Regions from separate parts of the Homo sapiens genome. Here regions 2, 3 and 4 are each linked to region 1. Evidence: promoter capture Hi-C in 16 types of primary human blood cells and fetal thymus (Javierre and others, 2016). All regions are on one chromosome and are shown on one strand. Each heading gives the region's core, a stretch centred on a gene start or on the middle of the fragment in contact. The rest is flanking DNA. Distances are from core to core; before and after follow the strand shown. Region 1 holds the start of GUCA2B (guanylate cyclase activator 2B). Region 2 overlaps HIVEP3 (HIVEP zinc finger 3). Region 3 overlaps HIVEP3 (HIVEP zinc finger 3). Region 4 overlaps HIVEP3 (HIVEP zinc finger 3).

Region 1 (3,402 bases), core at 595-3,094:
TGCTCAGTAAGTGCTAGCTAGTTGCTACATTCTCGTGCCTGGCTCTGCACGATCCCTCAGGTTTCAGCTTGGCTGACACCTCCTCTTGGAAGCCTTTCACACCCCTGTCCCATCGCAGATGTCAGCCAGCTCTCCTCTCTGCTCCACGCAGCCATTGTCTGTTGATGGGTCTGTGCCTGGCGTGGACTAAGGGGACGAAGCAGGTTCCAGGCATGCCTGACTCACAGTGCCCAAACCGGGGAGTCCTGGGAGCCAGTGGGACAGGGCCTGAGTTACTTGAATCTCCCCATCCTCAGCCGCTGGGTGCTTAAGAGAAACAACCCAGGTGGAGGAGCCTGGGCGTGGGAGGAGACAGAGCGAGGTTCTGCAGGGAGCGGGGGCACTTACTCAGGGTCTTGAAGATGCTGGAAGCCTCCTGCGAGGCGCAGACAGGCTGAAGGTCCTGAGGCAGAGCAGGGTGGTGGCACACGGCGGGCAGGAGGCTCTGGGCCTGCAGGCGGGGGCTGGGTGCCCACTGTGCCTCCAGGTCACTCAGCTTCTTCATGGATTCCAGCTGGACCCGGAAGCCTTGGTACTACAGACAGGGGAGAGGAGATAGGAGCAGGTCAAGACCTGGTCCAGGGGCAGGCACTGCCATGACACCCAGGGTTGCTCAAACCCTGCAGATCCTCCAGAGCCTTCCCCGTCTCTATGGGAAGTCCAGGGCCACACTGGAAAGAGCCGCTGCGGTGAGAGGTGTGAGGAAGAAGCAGCGGGGCTGTGGAGCACAGTGGTTCGAGGCTTTAGAGACAGACAAGCCCTGGTTCAAATCCCACCTCTGCCCATGACCGGCTGCCTGTCTGTTCCCCACTCAGCCTCAGTTCCCTCATCTGACATCTCCCGTGGGGGCCTGGTACCAGGGCACAATCACTAACTGAGTACGCCTGCCTGAGCTCACATGGCAGAGTGATGGCAGCCCCAAGTAGCTGGTCTCTGAGGCCAGGGCTGTTGGGGAGGCCAAGTCTCCTGCACCCCTCTCTGGGACCCACTTTGTTCTTCCCAAGGAGACCATGCCCAGAGTCAGGGATGTGACACCCAGGGCCACAGACGTCTCTGCTATGCTGGGCGAGGCCAGCAGCATCCCCTGTGACGTGGCAGACAGGCCCTGCTGTGACGACTACTGCCACTCTCCCATGCCCCCTGGAAGGGCACTGGAACCCCCATAGTCTTCTATCTGGTCTTTGCACATGCTGTGCCCCTTGGCCTGGAACAGTTTCCCCATCATCTGTGTCTGGCAACCTCCTGTTCATCTTGCAATGCCAGCTCAAGGGTTACTTCTCAGGAAAATTTTTCTGGAGCCTGTCCTCCTCCACCTACATGTGGGTGAATATACGGAACTGTGGGAGCATAACAGGGTGTCTCCTTCCCTTTCTGGCCTCCTCCCATGCAAGGAGGAGCCTTCTGTTCCACACCCTGACCTCTGTGACCAGCACGGGCCTTTGAGGGGAGCAGCGCTGAATCAGTTTGGTGTTGTCATTGCCATCATCACTGCCATCAACATCTGGCTGCCCCCACCCACCAGCTGCCTTGGTCTCTGGGCTGTGATGGGTGTTGGGCTGAGCCCCGGGCCCCGTGCTCCCCCGGTGCCCCTCTGAATTCCCAGTACACCCTCTCCAGCCTAGCCTCCCACCATGGGGCCCTTCAGGCAAAGGGAACGCTGGCCAAGGGACTCACCTGGATGTAGACTGACTGTGTGCTCTGCAGCAGCAGCAGGAGGACCACGGCCACTCCTGGCAGGAGCCCTGATGCAGCCCTGCAGCCCATCGCGCTCCCTGGGTTCCCCCTGCCGCTGTCCACCGTCTCCCATCTGTGTCCCTGCCTAGCACCTCCTTATAGGTCAGGCTCAGGAGTCCTGGTCACTCATTAACTGGCCAGCTGGGGTGGGGTTGACAGCTAGCTGGCTCTCTGACAAGCCGGGGCTGGTTCCTAGGAAGGGGGTTGGGGGCGAGGAGGGCAGGAGCCCAGAGTCTATGGGAACACAGTGCTTGAACACCGAGTGCCTGCCATGTGCCGGGCTCTCCATGGGGGCCTTGGAGCACACCATCATTCACTCCTCAAGACACCTGTGTGGGTGTGATGACGGGGAGGCCATTTTACAGACAGGAAAAGTGAGGCTCAGGAGGGAGGGTGGCTTTCCCCAGGTCACGGAGCTAGTTAATGTCAGAGAAGGGGCTCCAGCCAGGTGTCCTTGGCCCAGGTCAGCCCATGGTCCTTTCTCTGGGGGAAGGATACAGACAGAGAGGCTGGTCCAGGGCAAAGTGGGCAGACACTGCTGATTTCAGGGTTCTCAAGACCCCACTCCCCCAAGACCCACATCTCTCTCACTCCCTCTCCTCAGTGCTATTTAACGACTATCTTTCAGACCAGTCCTGGCCCCACGTTTTGAACCTGCCTCTGCTTGCCATCTCCCACCTGTGCCTGGGTGCTTCAGGCCATGTTTGACCCATCTCACCTGTCTGTGCTTTCAGAAGCCAATAGCCTAATCCAGCATGGAGGAAAAGGCAGTAGTGTTGGAGGCAGATTGACCCGCATTCAAATCCTAGTCCTGCTGCAGCTGTGTGATTTAGGATACGTCACATCAATTCTAATGGAATCTTAGTTTTCTCTTCCATCAAATGGGCATGATACAACCCCTCTCGTAAGGTTGCTGTGAGGGCCCCGGCCCACCTGAGGTTGCCCTTATCTCCTGGGTAATGCATCCATAGCAGCCCCTGAATCTTACAGTTGCCTTCTAGGCAATGCATAACCTACTGCCCCAGTGGTTGAAGGTTGGGTCAGAGAGAAGAGGGCAAAGTCTCTAAGGGTGATATCACCACTGCCATACCAGGCAGCTGTAAACAGTGCGTGTGCCAGGGCTCAGCTCTGCCAGGCACAGACTCTGGCATGTGGCAGGCTCCCCTGACATTGAGCCTGAACGTTGGATTGAAGCCCTGATAGCTCACCTTGGCATTTAAGATGCCACTCCCAAAAGTGGCTAAAATCTGATGTCATCGTGCTTCCCCATACCAACCCTATTTGCACAGGTCTAATCCCATCTCATGTCTTTGCCTACTCATTCCACCTGCCTGAAATGCCATCTTCCTTTTTCTTATCTCAGACTGAAATGAAGAAGAAGCTCAAGTGAACTTTGGAATTTCTTATGTATTGCTTTGAATCCAGACTTCAGCCTTTGCTCTTTAGAGTCTATGGAAATGAAGGGAATCTTACATGCCCTCTAATCTGTAAAATGAAAACAACCATCTGGGAATAATAGCTCTCATTTCTTGAATACTGTGCACAAAGCTATGTTATAGTCGTAATCCCATTGAATCCTAAAGGATAGGCATAATGGTTATTCCCATTTTACAGATGAGTAACCTGAGG
Region 2 (3,402 bases), core at 623-3,122, 610 kb after region 1:
ACCTCCATTTCCTCACTTGAAAAAGAGGACTGACATAACCCCCCTCACTGGTTTCTAGTAAGGATGAGGAGGTCCTGGAGTGAGGAGAATGCACTGTAGTGCTAGAGGATCACAGATGTTCGTTTGTGTTCTTGCGGCTGCTGCTGTCTATCCCATGCAGAAAATGGCTGAGCAGTGTGGGGTCCAGTTAGCCACGAGGTACAGGCATACCTTGGGGCTGGAGAGACGTTCCTCTTCATCTTGATCATAAAGGTGGCATGGTGCTCTGATCAATAAAGGTGTTGCTTCCTACTCCAACAGAAGATAAAGACGACCCTTTGGTGGCTGTGTCAGGACCTGTAAAATCCTTTATGGCTTGCAGCACCAGGAGGAGCCCTTATGACTGGAATGAACAACAGCAAGGCCACCAGCTCCAAGATATGAAGGCCTGAGGAGAACAGCATGACAAAGACTGAGCAGGAGATTGGACCATTGTAGGAGGTGCTGATCCCAGTCAACGAAAAACTTTCAACACGGCGAAGAAGCATCTCCACTTCCCCTGCGCTTACATTGGAGGAGACCAAAGAGCCACGTCTATAGCAGCCTCCACCTCATTTCCCTATTCTGATCTTGCTTTCTCGTTTCCAGCATCTGGGTTGTGGTCAGGTTCACTGTGCAGCTCTCAAGAGGGTCTAGCCCCAGTCTCAATATGGATACACCAGGAAGGACCTAAATAAGGAGCCCCCAGGTGTTGAGGGGTCTATGCTCACCCCCTGGAGCTATGAGGCCTTGTAGAGTCAGTGAGGTGGCTGGAGACCAGAGAGGGCAAGGGCCTGGGCCTAGGTTACACAGCCAGTTACCCACATGTGACTGGGAAGAGACAAAGTGTTCTCTGCTAACTGGTTACCACCTCCTTTAATCTCTGACAAGTTTTCATAGAAATGGCTTTCCTGAGGGATAGCCGGGCCAGCAGTGACAACTCTCACAGTCTGATCTTTACATACAAGCTCTGGAAGCTTTTCAGAACCACATTTTTCACCCTGCCTACCTCCGTGAAAACCATCTGTCCATCTGTCATGCTAAGAACTGCCCAAACCATTAAGTACTTTGAACTGAAGGGAAGATGAGACAGGATCAGCAGGCAGGAGCAGGAGCTGAATCACGCCAGCTCGTGGCTGTGCCTTGACTCCTCGACCCCACTTTCTGCTGGTGAGGACACTAATTTGGCCCCCACTTTGAGTGGTCAGACATTTAAGGCAGCGGGTAGGTGAGGGGCTACTTACAGATCTATAGTGCGCATGGTCCAGCCTACCATCTCACCAAGGGATTCCTGCTTCATGTTTGTCAAGTGCAGATAAGCAAACCCCTTTATTCTTCATCTTGGAGTTTCTTCTAAACATGTCACCCATTTTGCGCCTCCGTTATCCCGATAGAAACCTAACAGTTAGGTTAACTTTCCTGAGGCTTTTATTGCCCCCTGCGTATTGTTAATCTGGACCATGATCCTGCATCCCACTGATAGCCATTTTAAAAGTGGAAGAGTGGTTCAAGCTCCGTGTCATACGGATCATGTGTCATAGGAGGAACTGAAGCCTGCTCTTCAGCACTGTATTCAGTGTCAAAGTTTGGAAGCTGAAATGCTTCACATTCCATGTTGGCGGCTCTGTCTTCATCCCTGGAATTTGTTCCCTGCCATCATCCCCTTGCACTGCCTCTGCCTCTGCAGGATACTGTGGCTCTGTGACGATGTTTCTGTCTGCATCCTCTCTTTCCTCTACATCCTCGTCACCTTCATCATCTTCCTCTTCCTCATGCTGCTCCTCTTCTACTTCATCGGAATATTGACCTTCCTGGGGACAAGACTCTCATCAGGAGAGATGGGCACAAAGGAATCTTCTCTGTGAGGAGCTTCCTGCGCCTCGGACCCCATCCTGGCATGAGTGTGGTCATTTCCATCATCCTCCAGCGGGGGGGTCCTGGGAAGTTCATGGTCCCCTTGGCTGTGATCTTGGAGAGCTTCCAAGGGCTTCTGTATCCCCATCAGCATGTTATGGATTCCTCCGCAAACCTGGCCATGGCTGGAGAGAAGGAGGAGATGGTAGAGAGACTCCATCGTGACTTCTTACTCCATCAACTGGTCCCAATATTGCCAGGGCTAGACAGTTGAGCCAGCCTCTTAGCACGAAACCATTAGCTTCGCTTTTGAGGTGGGTGAGGGAGACATCTCCAGGCTTCTGAACCTATTGAAATCTGGGGCACTTGGTTTTCCTTCCACTATTGAAGAATGAATCTGACTGTAATGAGTGCTATCAAGGCAGAGTGCCAGATACAGCAAATACTGATTGAGCCCCACTCGGTGCTAGGCACTCTTCCAAGCACATAACCTATATTAACTAAGTAAAATGTGCAACACCTCTTGGAGCATATGCTATTATTTTGTAGTAATTTTCTAATTGAAACAGATCATACATACAAAAAACAATCCAAGTCATAAGTATACAACCATGAGTTATTACAGAGTGAACATACCTATGGAATTGTGCCCAGTTACCCACAGGTCAAGAAATAGGACATTATCCCTATTTTACAGATGAAGAAACTGAGGCACAGAGAGGTTAAGTAACCTGCCCAAGGTCACACAGCTAATAAGGGACAGAGGCTGGTTTCCGCCTCAGGAGTTCTGTCTGGTAAGCCCAGCTCTGTTTTCTACTGCCCATAGAAAAGGTGGACCTGGAGAGCATGACCCATCTCAGGGTCAGGGGAAGCTTCTGAGAAGCTGGGGTTGGATCTGAGCTCAGGGGAGAACTGGAGCTTCATCAGAAAGAGGGAAGGAGAGCATTCCAGGCAGGGTGATCTGCTGAGAGGCCTGCAGATCTGCTGTGGGGATTCAGGAGGGAGGCGATGTGGACAGCCTGTCACGGCCACAACACACAGACTCACCAGTCACTGGAGGGCAGCCATGGGGCTCACAAAGGGATTCTTCCTTCCACAAAAGGACTCACAACAGGCATCCCTAAATAGCTCGCTGCAAGGAAAACCCACTTTGAGTTGGGAAAGTCACATTTCCATAGAGTGGATTAGAGAAATAGGGCTTTCATTGGAAGAGGTGGCTCAGTCTGAGAATAACAGCTGGGAGGTGTAATAGTAAAACCATCCCACAGCCACAGCCATAGCTGGTCTCCTCTGGGCAGCATCAGCACACCCTCCATGGGCGGGTGCTTGCTCAGGATCACACAGCTGGTCGGAGGAGGCAGGATTTGAACTCGGCAGTCTGATGCATCAACACCCCATGCCTAACCACTGCACTCGCAGCGTCCTAATCAGACAGGCCACCTCAGTCCTCTGAGCCGTGACCACACCCTCCCTTCCTTCCTGTTTTCCCACCCACTCACCTACTGGCTGTTTATGTCTGGAGCACCAGTG
Region 3 (3,402 bases), core at 257-2,756, 580 kb after region 1:
GTTTTGATGCCTCCTGAGCATTTTTGCCTGGGAAATTCACACCTCACACTTAGCATGTGCAAACCAAGCCTTCCACTTCCCACCAACAGCATCTCCTTCCACATCCAGATCTCAGATGACACACCCAGCCCTTCACACTCAGAACCTTAACATTGTCTTGGACGCCTTCTCCCCCTTTCCAGTTAGACCCCAATCCTGGTGTCTGCATGAAGTAGTCAGTGACTCAGTGTGGTCTCTTTACTCCCTCTGCCACTGCTCTGGCCACCCTATCTCTAGAACTCCAAAGTTGGTGCCACTGAGCATCACTAAACATGATTCTGCCTGTGTCATGCTTTTCTCCAGAGCCGTCTGTGGCTGCCTCACCTACAGGATCCAGTTTAAACTCAGCCTGTGAGTGCTGGCCTCAGAATCTGACCTGTTCCTGTCGCCCTTCACCTTTTGCTGCCTGCTGGGCCCTGCCATTGCCAAATCCTACCCAGCCTTCAAAAGCCAATACTCAGCCCTGCTCCTCTAACGAGCCTCCCAAATCCCTCCACACTCTGTAGTTCTTTGTGTTACTTCTGTCATAACACTGGTGCTAAGATCCATTTCTGTCTCCTCCCAAGTCCCTTCTTGACTTGGGTCCTGGGGTAATGCTTTGCACACACAATGCATCAGTCTCTGTTTATTGCACTAGTTTCCTGGCACATGGCCCCCTCTGCATTCCCCATCACTTCCACACCTGAACAAAGCCCGCATTTTCCAGGCAGCCCCTGGGAGTGCCCATCAGGGATGTGATGGCTCTCTCACCCAGCACCTGTGCATTTGCCTTGGTTGTTTAGAATGGCTTTTTGTTAAGCAGTGTTGTTTTCACACACACAAAGTTATGTTGTTCCTTGAGAGTAATGACTATATTGTCTTAACTCAAGTTCACTTATTGCAAGGAAAGCTGGGAATTCAGCCCAGTGGGCTTACACGGAAGAGGAAGAGACTGGAATTGATAGGAACCACCTGGCTGACCAAGCCCAGTTGGGTGGTGTGTTATTGGGGCTTATGTCCGAAGGGAATGATAAGTTCAGATGGTGAGATCCCAGGAGTCCATGCCAGACCCTGCGTGCTGCAGGACTCAGCTGCTGCACCTCCTATGGGAGGGCATTGGCTCCCATCCCACCTCACCTACCCCAGTACCTCACTCCAGCCATTGCCACTCTCCTGGGCCAGGAGAGTGCTCCTTAAGCATACCCAGACTTAAGGTTTCCACCTTAAAAATACTTTGGCTGAAGGGCCATATTGCCAGATTTCTCTGTTTCCTTTAAAGAAAAACTCCAGAAGAAGGTGACTGTGTTGCTCACCTCCGTATCTTTCCTCCTGGCTTCTCTCAGACCTATTCAAGGTGGGCCTTTGGGCTCCTCACACCTCAGAAGCTGCTCTTATCCAAGTCAATGATGACCCTCACCTTGCAGAAGTCAGTAGTCAGTTCTCACTTCTATTCTTTCCTGAGCCATCGGCAGCATTTGACACAGTCAATCCTTCGCTCGTCCATGCAGGACTTTGTCCTCTTGGTTTCCTGGACACTGCCTGTATTAGTCTGTTTTCACACTGCTATAAAGAACTGCCCAAGACTGGGTAATTTATAAAGAAAAGAGGTTTAATTGACTCATTCACATGGCTGGGGAGACCTCAGGAAACTTACAATCATGGTGGAAGGTGAAGGGGAAGCAAGGCACCTTCTTCGCAAGGTGGCAGGAAGGAAAAATGCATGCAGGAGGAACTACCAAACGCTTATGAAACCATCAGGTTTCATGAGAACTCATGCACTGTCACCAGAATGGTATAGGGGAAACTGCCCCCATGATTCAATTCCTCCACCTGGTCTCTCCCTTGACACATGGGGATTATAGGGATTACAATTCAAATGAGATTTTGGGTGGGGACACAGACAAACCCTATCACCTTCTTTCTTGATCCTCCTCTTCCTTGACTGGTTACACTTTCTCACCATCTTCAGTGAGTCCCATCATCGCCTGATCTCTGAACATTAGGGCTCCACATGGCCCAGCCCCAGGCTCCGTGCTCTTCCTCTAAACTCAGTCCCAACGTGATCTATACACCATCTACAGGTTGATGACACTCAGATCCCTATCTCCAAGGACTTCTCCTCTGAACTCCGGGTCATGCATCCAACTTCGTATCTGGGAGGCGGTCCACCTGCACATCAGTGAACCCACCCTTTGTCCACAGCACAGCGCATACTGCAGAACTGTGTCTCAGGCCTCTTTGACATTCCTTAAAGAAATTATTTTAAAAGTTTATTTAATTCATTACTGTTCCAGTTGAAGGGGTTACATTTTTAACGAGTGTACTTTTCTATCTCATCTATTTCTATAGCTGAATTAATTTTTATCCAAGTCTTAAGAGTTCATGCAGTGTACGCAGCACGTTTTTGTGACAGTGCATTTGTACATTTTGAAGTGTGTGTGTGTGTGCCTGTGTATGTGCACACATACCTGTGTGTTTCATGAAATAGTAGCTTGGAGAGAATAGTGTTAGTTTTAAAAAATCTAAAGATTATTTTCTTTTCTAATAGTTTTTTTACAAATCCATTTCTTCTTGGACTTTGAAACCCAGAAGTGTAGCATGATTTTCAGCCTAATCATCTGCTGTGCCTAGTCCCATTTTGCTGTGAACTCCAGATTTAGAATTATGTCTTTGGGAATATGTGTTACCTCTGTGTATTTATTGGGGAACAAATTGATTAAACTATGAATTAAATAAGTGGTAATAAGTTGGAGCCTTTTGGATAGGTGTGTAAAAAATAAAGTCAGTAAGCCACTCTAAGAACCTAAACAGTAGCAAAACCACATACCACAGGAGGGTTGGTGGCGTGGAGGTTGGGAAATGTATAACATAGGTAGACAAACTGTGCCCATTACCCACACTTGCTTTATATCTCTTTAAAGTCTTTTAAGTGGTCAAAGATGGGTATAGTAGTCAGTTCTTGCATTGCTATAAAGAAATACTGAAGACTGGGAAATTTATAAAGAAAAGAGGTTTAATTGGCTCATGGTTCTGCAGGCTATACAGGAAGCATGCTCCTGGCATCTGCTCGGCTTCTGGGGAGGCCTCAGGAAACTTTCAATCATGGCAGGAGGTGAAGGGGAAGCAGGTGCTTCTTACATGGCTGGAGCAGGAGCAAGAGCGGGAGGGATGTGTCACACAAGTTTTAAACAACCAGATCTCAGAACTCACTATAGTGACGACAGTATGAAGAGGGGATGGTGTTAAACCATAAGACACTGCCCCCATGATCCAGTCACCTCCCACCAGGCCCCATCTCCATTACTGGGGATTACAATTTGACATGAGATTTGGGCAGGGACACAGATCCAAACCATATCAGTGGGGAAAGGCATCTTCTGAAGG
Region 4 (3,402 bases), core at 288-2,787, 560 kb after region 1:
CTGGGAAAGGCAGCCTCTAGCTGGTGGCCATAGACCCAGCTTGGGGGCCTTTGATTACTACAAGAAAGAGAACTGGCTAATGGAAGAAATATTCAGTCTCTGCCACAATCCCTGTTCCCAGCCAGAGCTCCGCCTTGACCTTGGCCTCTCTCTTTGCCCAGACATCCTTCTGTGACTCTTTGACTACCAATCCCTGTTAGTCTCCAGACCCATATGCTTATATCTGGCTTGTTTTGCCACCACCTGAGCCCACAGCCACTTTTAGTATTTTTTTGCAAGTGAAGAATTCTGCTCCAGCTTAAACACACACATGCATACATGCACACACACAGAGTGTTGTACACAGAGATTTTTAGAAGGGGCACTGGCTTTGTTGCTAGGTCATTAAATAAGAATATTTACTGAGTGCCTCCTCTTCAGCCTGTGGCCTTGTGCCCTGGGTTCCCAGGTATTAAAGTTAATAGGAAAGTTTTCTTATATTTTTGACATCAGTATGTTTTATTACTGCCAGTAAAATTTTTGACCAGATTTTGGCATGTTGGGATATGTGGGGGTGTGTGTGTGTAAGTAAATTACAAGCAAAGAGCTGTATTAAGCCCCACCAGCCTGGGGCCAGCTTAGCCTAACAGCTCCTTGGACATCAGGCCCCTGCCCCTATCTTGCCCCAGCCTTATCTAACTTTGACCGGGGACCCCAGCTCCTCAGTCTAGAGCCCAAGGCAGATTCAAGCTGGCCTCCTGCCAGGACTGGTGGAATTGTCTACCTGAGAGAGCCCATCTCCCACCTGCCCTCTGGAAATGTCCTCTGGGGTGTCCACCCTGGGCCATGGTCATGTTGTCCTGACGCCTTCGATACAGAAGGTGCTTTCCAGTTTGGTTCCAGAGCTTCAGGCCTCCCTGCCTTGGCCCCGGGCTCCTCCATTACTTCCCACTCCCCTGAGGCTTTTGTGGCTCCAACCCCAGCAAGTCCCGATCTCCTTCCTATTGGGCTGCTCCCACAGCTAGACCAAAGGAAGCTTCTTGAAGTGGGAGCTAACCAGTTGGCTGCTGAAGCTCAGGTTCCCCTCAGGGTTATAAGCTGGTCTCTGAGCGAGAGCTCTCACTGGCCTCATGGCCCATTCTGTGACCATCAGTAGAGGCTGTCCATCCTCTTCTGGTCTGGGGTTCAGGCCTCTGTTGGCCCAGCTCCTGGGCCCATTTCTCTGGTGACTTTTACAGGTGCTCTCACCAATTCCCTGGAAAAGTGGCTCTTTTCTTTATCACTTCAAGTTTGTGTTAAAATTTCACACATACCCTCAGAACCACAGAAGGTAGAAAAGAACCATTTTCTTAGTGTCTGTTGGTCACAGTCATTAGAACGGTCCTTCGGTTTATGCCGCACCACATTTGGAATCCATTCCAAGACAGAAGTCTCCTTAGGTCCTGCAGGTTCCCCTACATCTGCACCTGTGGTCCTGGCTGCCCTTCTCCCCCTGCCCCTCCTCTTAAGCACTTCAGACCTGTCATGGTGTGGTAGAGCAGGCTGGCAGAGAGCACTAGTCCAGAAGTCCAAGCCCCAGTGTGGCTTGGGCTAGCCACCCTCCACCATGGCTCAGATGCCTGTTGTGCAGAATGACAGGGTGGCCCCTCCAGCTCACAGGCCTCGCTCACTCTGCGCCCTGGCAGCCAACGGTGCTCCTGTGGCCTTTTTGCTCCCCACTCAGAAGTGTGGGTAGGAGGCCTCTGCTTGGAGAAACACCATGTCCAGCCCACAGGTGCAGGCTGGACACTGACCCTGGGCAGGCAGTGCTGGCCCTGTAGTCATCTGATGATGCAGCAGTCATCTGACTGTCTCCTTCATCTACCCTGCCCCTCCCACCTGGCCCTGGGAATTGCACCAAACCCCAGCTGCTGGGCGCTCCACCACCTGCCAAGGAGAGCCTTGTGGCTCAGTGAGGGGAGAAGGCAGGACTAAGCAATGTAGAGTCCTGCCTGGCCAGCTGACCCCCACTCAGATTGATCATTTCACCACCCAGTCATGCTGCAGGGTCCCATCCATCCATCGGAAGAAGCAAAGCTTACCACTAGCTGGTGTTTTGGGGCTGCTCTCAGATCCTTGCATGAAAGGATCAATAAGAATAGTAAGTATAGCCAACCCTTGATTATCCACACATAGCACCCAAAGGCCTCTCCATCACAGTGCAGCCAGGCTGAGGAGGCCCAGCCCAGCCCAAAGAGCAGTTCTCTCTGTGCTGCAAACCATGTCTACCATGTCTGATTTTTAGAAGGCTCAGCACTTCTGCCCGCCTTAGCTTAGGTAAGCAAGACCTGGGGTAAGGCTGCCAGGACGAGTTCCCCGACCTTTGCTGGGCTCCCCTTTCTTCTGTCCAGCAGCTGCAGTGTGGTTAGGACATAGGTTGAAAGGGCAACTCTATTGTTCAGATGCTAGACAATTCCTTACTCCCTCTTGCCGTGGATACAGCGATGTCCCCTGGGGCCATGCCGGTGCTTCCATAGGACTAGGGGCCATAGACTGCAGTGCGCATCATGCCACAGAAGCCACAGAGAACTTCTATTAATTGAGGTGGGAGACAGTCCTGGCTGGGGGGTCAAGAGGCACAGGATGGTCCAGTCCTGCCACCATTCCCGTGTGATTTTCAGGGAAAATCATATCACCTTTCTAGCCTTCAGTCTCTTCTGTCAAGTGAGAGGAATGGACTAGACAGTCAGTCTCTAAGAATCTATCAGAAGATCACGGTGTAACTTTAGTCTCCATAGAAGAGATCAAAAGTATGTATGAGACACCCAGAGACAGTTGGCACTTATGCCTAGTTTTGGCCGTAAGGCAAATATTAATTGTAAGGGTAACCATTTTGTCCTGGTTTGCCTGGGACTGTCTTTGTTTATTCCTGTTGTTCCTCGATGACTGTTAGTAGTTCCCATTTCATTCTCCAAGTGTCCCAGTTTGGATGGTATCTTATATGGCCACCCTGTTGACTGAGATGTAATCTAATGAAATGAGATTTGTCTGTCTTCCCCACACTCAGCCTGCTTTGGTACAAGTCACAGGAGGCCTTTGACTGCTCATAGGAGAATCTCTGCTGATACACAGTCTTTCATTGACAAATATCAATCACTGTATTTGCACCATATCCAATGACTAGAGGGATGTCATTGAATCCGTCACTGTATTCAATGACCAGAGGGGTGTCATTGAAGACATAAATGATCTCCTGCATCATTCACTGCTCCTGACTGAAGTGCTACATGAAAAAGTTTTGCAAGAAACTTAGATGTTCCATCCTGTCTGGCTATAAGACTCCATAATGGACCAAATCTCCCTTTTCTCCTTGGCTGCCAGGAAGCTCATATATAAATATATAGCTGAATTATAGAAACACCATAAGTCCTTATTATTGGTATA

Evidence for each region. Contacts are between HindIII fragments. The CHiCAGO score rates a contact against its expected background, and 5 or more counts as called.
Region 2: a fragment that was not itself captured here is called in contact with the fragment with the promoter of GUCA2B in region 1 in 4 of 17 cell types (activated CD4 T cells, total CD4 T cells, neutrophils and 1 more); the score reaches 6.0 in activated CD4 T cells.
Region 3: a contact is called between a fragment that was not itself captured here and the fragment with the promoter of GUCA2B in region 1, in 14 of 17 cell types (total CD8 T cells, total CD4 T cells, neutrophils and 11 more). The highest score is 15.2, in total CD8 T cells.
Region 4: a fragment that was not itself captured here is called in contact with the fragment with the promoter of GUCA2B in region 1 in 3 of 17 cell types (naive CD4 T cells, total CD4 T cells and total CD8 T cells); the score reaches 7.7 in naive CD4 T cells.

Annotation. Positions count from the first base shown.
Region 1 is chr1:42,151,852-42,155,253 of GRCh38, reverse strand. GUCA2B (guanylate cyclase activator 2B) reads right to left here and starts at 1,844. Exons shown (of 3, transcript NM_007102.3): 1 at 1,714-1,844; 2 at 388-574. The coding sequence starts at 1,803. The HindIII fragment of the contact is 11,651 bases long and covers 1-3,402 here.
Region 2 is chr1:41,540,951-41,544,352 of GRCh38, reverse strand. The region is part of intron 5 of HIVEP3 (HIVEP zinc finger 3); the gene reads left to right. It also overlaps the pseudogene LOC100418723. Among named protein-coding and RNA genes, the nearest start is that of EDN2, 58 kb to the right of the region's middle. RefSeq lists a silencer at 3,179-3,393. The HindIII fragment of the contact is 1,749 bases long and covers 998-2,746 here.
Region 3 is chr1:41,568,797-41,572,198 of GRCh38, reverse strand. All of the region lies in intron 5 of HIVEP3 (HIVEP zinc finger 3), which reads left to right. Among named protein-coding and RNA genes, the nearest start is that of EDN2, 86 kb to the right of the region's middle. The HindIII fragment of the contact is 4,646 bases long and covers 1-3,402 here.
Region 4 is chr1:41,586,977-41,590,378 of GRCh38, reverse strand. The region is part of intron 3 of HIVEP3 (HIVEP zinc finger 3); the gene reads left to right. The region is part of intron 1 of LOC128125817; the gene reads left to right. Among named protein-coding and RNA genes, the nearest start is that of EDN2, 100 kb to the right of the region's middle. The HindIII fragment of the contact is 1,040 bases long and covers 1,018-2,057 here.